2 separate regions of the Homo sapiens genome follow, and region 1 is linked to region 2. The links are contacts of gene promoters, found by promoter capture Hi-C in blood cells and fetal thymus (Javierre and others, 2016). All regions are on one chromosome and are shown on one strand. Each heading gives the region's core, a stretch centred on a gene start or on the middle of the fragment in contact. The rest is flanking DNA. Distances are from core to core; before and after follow the strand shown.

Region 1 (3,453 bases), core at 709-3,208, 330 kb before region 2:
ACAGGGGCCCAGCTCAGGCCCCATAAGGAGGAAACTAGAAACAATTTTCCTCACCTCGCACAAATCCCATCCCAAATTCCCACCCACCAGCTTAGAGGGAGCGGAGGCCTGAGCTCATCTTCTCACGTGGAGCTCGGGCATGGTGCTGGGGCCCCAAGGCCCCGGAATCCCTGTCTGGGCCTCTGATCCCTGTCTTCAGAAGGTGGCGAGCCACCCTTCCGGCCTTAGGCCTGCTGACATGGGACCCAGTGTCTGTTTGTCCAAGTTCAAGGATTATGAAATGTGGGTTATTGCCCTGCTCTGCTGATACTGGCTCTGTGGGGCCTCCATCCCAACCCCCTGATCGCAGAAGCCCCAAGCTTTCTGGAGACGCTTGGCCTCGTTTTATTCTCCCAAGAAGACCCTGCGGTGGGCAGAGCAAGACTTTTAGCCCCATCTCCCTAGCGGGAGAACTGAGGAGTCACGGCAGTGCCCTGGCCCCAGCTAGCAGAAGTCTGGCAAGCTCCAGGGATTTCGAATCCTCTTGGGAATTCTCGCAGGAGCCAGTCCCCTTTTTGCCAAGTGACTCCCACACAGACCCATCAAACTTTGCAGGTCCCCATGGGGGAGCAAACTTTGCAGGTCCCCTGCAACTGGACGGGGACAGCCCTGAGTGGTGAAGCGGGGCTCTGTGGCATATCCCCCGGCAAGGAGCCCCCCTGGCCACACCCACTGTCCAGGGATGCTGCCCCCAGCCAGACCCTCAGCCTCCTAGTCCTGGACCGAGACAGGGTGGGCTCGGGCCACACATGAGACCTCCCGTATATGTCCTGGGCTAGCACAACTGCTGGGTTGGCCAGCACTGGGCTAGGTCTGACCCCAAGATGGAATAAACAAAGGAAAATCCATGACAACTGGACTTAGCTCAGGGTGGGCCCTGCCCTGACATCCTCTCATCCCGCAGAGCTGCCCACACACTCAGGGGCATGGAGGAGCCACAGGCTGGCCAGGGGCCCAGCACCCTGGAGGACACAGAGAGGCACGGAAGTCACCTGGGCTGGAGGGGAGGAGTCAAGGCAGCCCTCCCAGGGACAAGGCCCTTCCGGCTGCAGCTGCAGAGAGGGAGGGAGGAGGAGGAGCAGGTCTGCCCTCTGTTCTGACACCAGGGGCCTTCTGGAGCTCCCCCAATGCTGCTCTCCCCATGCTCCTCCTCCCCTCCATGGCCTAGCCACCTCCCCTTTGCCCTCCTGGCTGCAGCCTCTGCTCCCCTCCCCATCCCACTTGCCTGAGCCAGCGCCACCTGGCCACATCCTGTATCTGCCCTCACTGCCACTCCCCAGGGCCCCTAGTAGCCCCCTGCTGTCCACAGGGACAGTCCCACCCCTCCCCACCGGGAACAGAGCCCAGCACCATGTGGCCCCTCAGGCTGTCCAGCTCCAGGACTCCTGTCCTGGCCACACCCTGCACTGTGGCCCCAGGTGCTTGGGGGCGTTCCCTGCACCTCCAAGCTTTAGCCACAGGTGCATCCTCCTGCTGGAAGGTTCTCCCTCCCCTCCCCACCTACTGTTCTTGCCCCAAGACTGGTCTTCATAGCCCGTCTCTGGGGCCTCTCCCCATTCCCTGGCTCATCCACAGTGAACCCCTCCTGGCTTGTCCAGACCCCACCTCACCTGGACCACAGCTTGTCACAGTTGGCCTGCATGCCAGACAGTGGCTCCTCGGGGCAATGACAGCATCTTTCTTTTCTTGAGCTTCTCTGAGGCCAGCCCAAGACACAGTTCAACCCGTGTTTGTTGAATGAATAAATGACCTACAATGGGGCCTTACCCTTTCACACCCAGGACAAAGTCATTTGCTCCCTCCAGGTTTACTTTGCTTTACTTTGCTAAACCACCACGCTTGCTCTCCTCTGCTTCACTCTTGCCTCCCACTGCCCACACCGAGTGTCCACCTTAAAGGGAACCCCAGAGCCAATGAGGGAGGCATGAAATCCTGACTTCCGACTCCTCCCCACCTGAGCTCCTCCCACTGGAACCTCCTGATGGGGCAGAAGGTTCAGGCTCACCTGAGCTGGGACCTGCCTGTGCTCCTAAGGGCATGGCCTTTCCGGCAGTTGGCTCCAAGTCACTTTGGAGAGACATTAGCATCCAGGCTCCTCTGACCCTCGAACGGGAGTTGCTTTTTGCGCCTCCCGGCAGGGAGCCCCCAGTGTCCTTGTCTTCTGGTGTCACCTGCTTCACAGCACGTCTCCCAAAATGCTTCAGAGCATTTCCATTTTTCCACGAAAGAAATGACCCGTTTCCTGGGCTCCTTTCTCCTCTGTGCCTCTGTGGCAGAGAGAGCTGCCTTTGTCGTAAAATAATTTCGGGCGCTTGCCTCTCTCTCACGCACAACTGTTCAAGGCTCTTTCCTCCGACTGACTTTCATGTCGCAAAACTCTATTAAGCTTTCATCTGCCTGGGGGAGCCGTGCCTTGAGGAACCAGGGAAGGGAAGGAGTGCTCCGGACAGTGCGCAGGGGATATGTAAATGGGTGCAGAACCCAGAGCCTGCCTCTGCCCTCCAGTCCACCCACCCGTCTCCAAGCGAGAACCGCCCTGCCTCGCGCTCCCCCGCCTGTTCTGGAAAGGGCGGTGTGAGGCAGGCAGGGCAGAGCCACCCTGAAATCCTCATCTGGATTTTTTGTTCATTCCAGTGGCAAAGAAGCTCACTCCCAGGAAACCGGGTGCATTCGAGGAAGGTGCTTTGGTGGAAAGAGCACTGGGGCAGGAGTCCAGGCCTGGGTTCGAGTGACAGCGGGTGCTGATTCCTCAGGGTTTCCACACTTCCTGGCAGGGAGGGCCTGGCTGCGTTGCCGTCTCTAATATTTGCCTAATATAGAATGGACCACTTGCTGGGACTCCACACATGTCTGAATATCCACCGCCGCAGGATTTTGTATTCCTTCTCTCTAAGAGGAACCCCCTAACTGTGTATGCTGAGATGCCACCAGGCTGGACGTCCCCATCAGAGCTGCCACATCTCCCTGCCGTGTGGCCCTGGGTGAGCCACCTTCTCTGTGTGCCTCAGTCTCCCAACTGTGTTTCCTCAGTGTTGTGAGGACTGAGTTCCATCGCAAACCACTCTCGCATGTGCCAATGGAGTGTTATGGTTTCCAAATACATGCACCCATCATGGGCTCTAATTCCCACCAAAAAAAAAAAAAAAAGCTCTGAGGTTTTCACCAGTGAGCCAGCTGATAGCAGCCAAACCAGAGCTGGGTTCAGGGTAACCAGCCTCCAACCATTTCAAAGCAGCCTTCGGACCTAACTTTCCATTTCCTCTGGGCAGCTGCTGTCCTCCAAGACTCCAGCTGGGGAAGAGAACAGCCCCATCTTCTTTCTCCACCTCTCAGCCGTGAGCTGGCTGTTCACAAATCACTCACTCTTCATTCTCACAGCAACCCTCACCAAAGCCCCGTGTCACAGATGAGGAA
Region 2 (3,394 bases), core at 177-2,676:
CCACCTCCAGAACTGGAGTTCTCCAAGGACACGGCCGAGGGCTGACACCCCATGACCCAGGGCCAGGCACAGAGTGAGAGCCCTTTACCTAGGCCTCCTCATGGCTCCGGAGGAAAGATGCCAGACTCAGGAGCCCTTTCCAGCTGTGTGATGTCAGGCAAGTCCAGTAGCTTCCCTGAGGAAGGGAGCGGCTGGCCCCAGGCTGGCACCTAGCTGGGGCTGAGAAAGGCTGCTAATGGAGGCCGGGCGCAGTGGCTCACGCCTGTAATCCCAGCACTTTGGGAGGCTGAGGCGTGCGGATCGCTTGAGGTCAGGAGTTTGAGACCAGCCTGACCAACATGGTAAAACCCTGCCTCTACTAAAAACCCAAAAATTAGCCAGACATTGTGGTGCATGTCTGTAATCCCAGCTACTTGGGCGGCTGAGGCAGGAGAATCACTTGAACCCAGGAGGCAGAGGTTGCAGTGAGCCAAGATCACGCCAGTGCATTTCAGCCTAGGCGACAGAACAAGACTCCATCTCAAGGGAAAAAAAAAAGAAAAAGCCTGTTAATGGGGCAGGTACTCTGCCTTCTCCCAGGGCCAGAGCTGGGCCGCTCTCCCAACCCCCATGCTGTTTCCAGAAGTACTGACGCCACCCACCGATGTTTCACAAGACCAGCAAGGGCAGGAGTGCCCACTCAGAACAGCCCCCACAGCCCACGGGATGGAGCTGAGCCCGTGTCCCAGGGCCTGGTTATCTCCCTGAATCAGTCTTTCACCAGGAGCCCTTCCCCAGGAGGGAGAACGGTTTCTCCAGCAGAGTCTGGCCTGAGAAGCAGGCTCTGGAGGCCTAGCCAGGTGCACACACCCAGCAGGGCAGGTGGAGCCACCTCGCCAGGCCCCTTACCGTCCTCTGCCCGCCCCTTCCAGTCCCTGCTGCAGGACCAGGCCCATCTTCCCTACCCATCTCCCCACCCTCTCGATCCTCTCCTGGGGTCTTCTTTCCCTTCCAGTGACTCAATCACCCCTCCCCACACCAAGGACTCCCAGCCTCCCTGACTCTGCCTCCCGAGCGGCCCCCATGCCTAGACCACAGCCCCATCCCCAGCCTGCCCTCAGCCTCCTGTCTGAGCCTCCCAGGCCAGTGCAGCCCCCCAGGCCCTGCAGCACCCCTCACCCAGCCTTAGCCTCCCAGGAACCTGCTCTCTGCTCCTGGCAGATCCTGGGGGGTGAGGGGCTCCTCAAAGCCCACCCTGCTGCCCAGCACCTTCCTGGACCTCAGTTCCTCCTGCTACCCCCAGGAGCAGCAGTGTCTGCACAGCCCACCATCCTGTCTGTTACCTCCGATGGCTCCAGCGACAAAATCCATGAACAAGGTGTGGCGGGGAGGCCCTGGGTCTGCCTGCCTGAGAGGGCTTTGGTGCCACCAGGGTGGCCTCAACAGCTCCCAGCTGGCCCCTCTCAGACCTTAAATACCTGCGGCAGGGGAGGGGACCGGAAGCAGAGCCTGCTGAGGCCACGCGGCACACAGCTGGACTCCCTCCCTGCCCCCGGGACCCTTGTCCCAGTGCCCTCGGGACCCAGGTGTCAGGAAAACACAGGAGAGAGCACGGGAGGTGACAGGCACCAGAGAGCAGGGGCACTGCCCCATCACATCCAAACACCTCCTGGGAAGGTCCAGAGATGGGGCTGTGACAGCTCTCGCCCTCCAGGTCCAAGCCCAGGCCTTCACTGTGTCCCCTGGGCTTTCCCGACTCCCCTGGATTTGCTCAGGACCCCTGCCTGGGAAACCTGCAAAGCTCCCTCTCTTACTCACTCAAAAAACACTTACTTTGCTGATGCTACACCCAGGCAAATGAGAGCCAGTCCCTGTCCTCAAGGAGCTCCAGTTGGCAGGGAGGGAGGGGGTGGCAAGGACAGGCCTGAACCCAGGAACAGCACCCACCATCTGCTCTCACCCTTCCCGCTGCCCCGGTTCCCTGCTCTCTGCTCCATGGGAATGTGTCTCCCTGGACCCAGAGGCGAAGGCCAAGGCTGCCTCCACCAAGTCCCCCTGCCCACATGAACCAGGGACAGAGGCTGCCGATTCAGCCTCTGAACCAGCGGCTGGGGCCCTCCTGAAGGGGAAACCTCTCCACTAAGACGCTACTTCTGTCTGCTGGGCACTGTAAAAACAGGGACCTCCTTGCCCGTGCACCCCACCTTACAGTTCACCAAGCTCCCCTCACTCTCAGGCTCTAGGATCCTCCTCACCGCCCCAGGAGGGAGACAGCGCAGCGTTAGTGCTCCCCATTTCACAGATGGGGCCATTGAGGCCCAGAAAGGGGGCTTGTCCAAGGCCACGAGGGCGGCAGGGCTGGATGTGATCCCCAGATGCTCTCATACAACCCACCCTCTGGGATATCCAGGCCCGCCTGGGGAGGCCCCAGAGGGCTCTCAAGGGGACTCAGTGCATGCCCCATGTGACCTGCACTGCATCCTTGTGAGATCTCCACGTGAGACACCAAGGCTCAGGGAGGCTGTGCAGGTACCTCGGCCACACAGCTGCTGAGCAACAGAATCTAAGTGAGTGCCCCACAGACTGGAATGCCAGCAGGATAGGGGAGGGGCAGGTGTTGATGCATGAGGCCCAGGCAGCCCATCTGGGCAGCCCTCGGGACAGGTGGCAAGGCCAGGAGGCTCTTTGTCTACCTGTTTTCCTGTCCTCTAATGGCTGGACCTGCAGGCTGGCCTTGAGCAGGCTGAGAGCTGATGGAGGGACAGCCCCCCTGCCAGCCCGGCTATTTATAGGCAAGTGGGAGACACAGGATGAGCAGTGCCAGCTGCCACGGCAGAGGGCAAAGGGCGGGAAGTGGCCCATCCAAGGCCAGTCCCAATGCTAGTCCTGGCCCTCAAGGGGATGAAGCTTAGCATCTGGTTAGAAGCTGGCTGCCTGCCTTTAAAGCCCAGCTCTGCCACTCACAGCTGAGACCGTGGGCCAGCCCCTTGACCACTCTGTGCCTCAGCTTCTGCATCCATGAAATGAAGAGAGTACCTGCCTCATATCTGCGACCACGCAGGGCAAAGTCCGGGCGTGTCCCTGTGAGAGTGGCCAGCTAAATGCTAATGCTGCATTAACAGAAGCATAGAGTCTGGAAGGAAGGAGGTGGCTGGCCTGTTCTGGGCAGGGCAAATACAGCTGAGACTTGGGTTTGATTGCTGATGCTGCACTCAAGAAGCCAGTACCTTGGGTGCTGAGGGAGTTTGAAGCACTGTGTCTAACTGAAAGAACAGGGACCATTCAGATCCATGTTTCCTGTAGAGCATCCAATGCAGCAAGTGCCACCCACCCATAGCACCTGAGCCAGAAGCCCAGGAATTGCCCTGGACACCTCTCTCTCTCCACCCCACATCCAGAGTCCCCAGTCCTGTGT

Evidence for each region. The method cuts DNA at HindIII sites, captures the fragments that hold promoters and counts their contacts. A CHiCAGO score of 5 or more calls a contact.
Region 1: a fragment that was not itself captured here is called in contact with the fragment with the promoter of SLC25A47 in region 2 in 1 of 17 cell types (monocytes); the score reaches 6.8 in monocytes.

Annotation. Positions count from the first base shown.
Region 1 is chr14:100,656,302-100,659,754 of GRCh38, reverse strand. LINC00523 (long intergenic non-protein coding RNA 523) reads right to left here and starts at 2,487. Exons shown (of 2, transcript NR_024096.1): 1 at 2,045-2,487. The HindIII fragment of the contact is 938 bases long and covers 1,490-2,427 here.
Region 2 is chr14:100,321,371-100,324,764 of GRCh38, reverse strand. SLC25A47 (solute carrier family 25 member 47) reads right to left here and starts at 1,426. Exons shown (of 6, transcript NM_207117.4): 1 at 1,323-1,426. The coding sequence starts at 1,350. The HindIII fragment of the contact is 12,472 bases long and covers 1-2,888 here.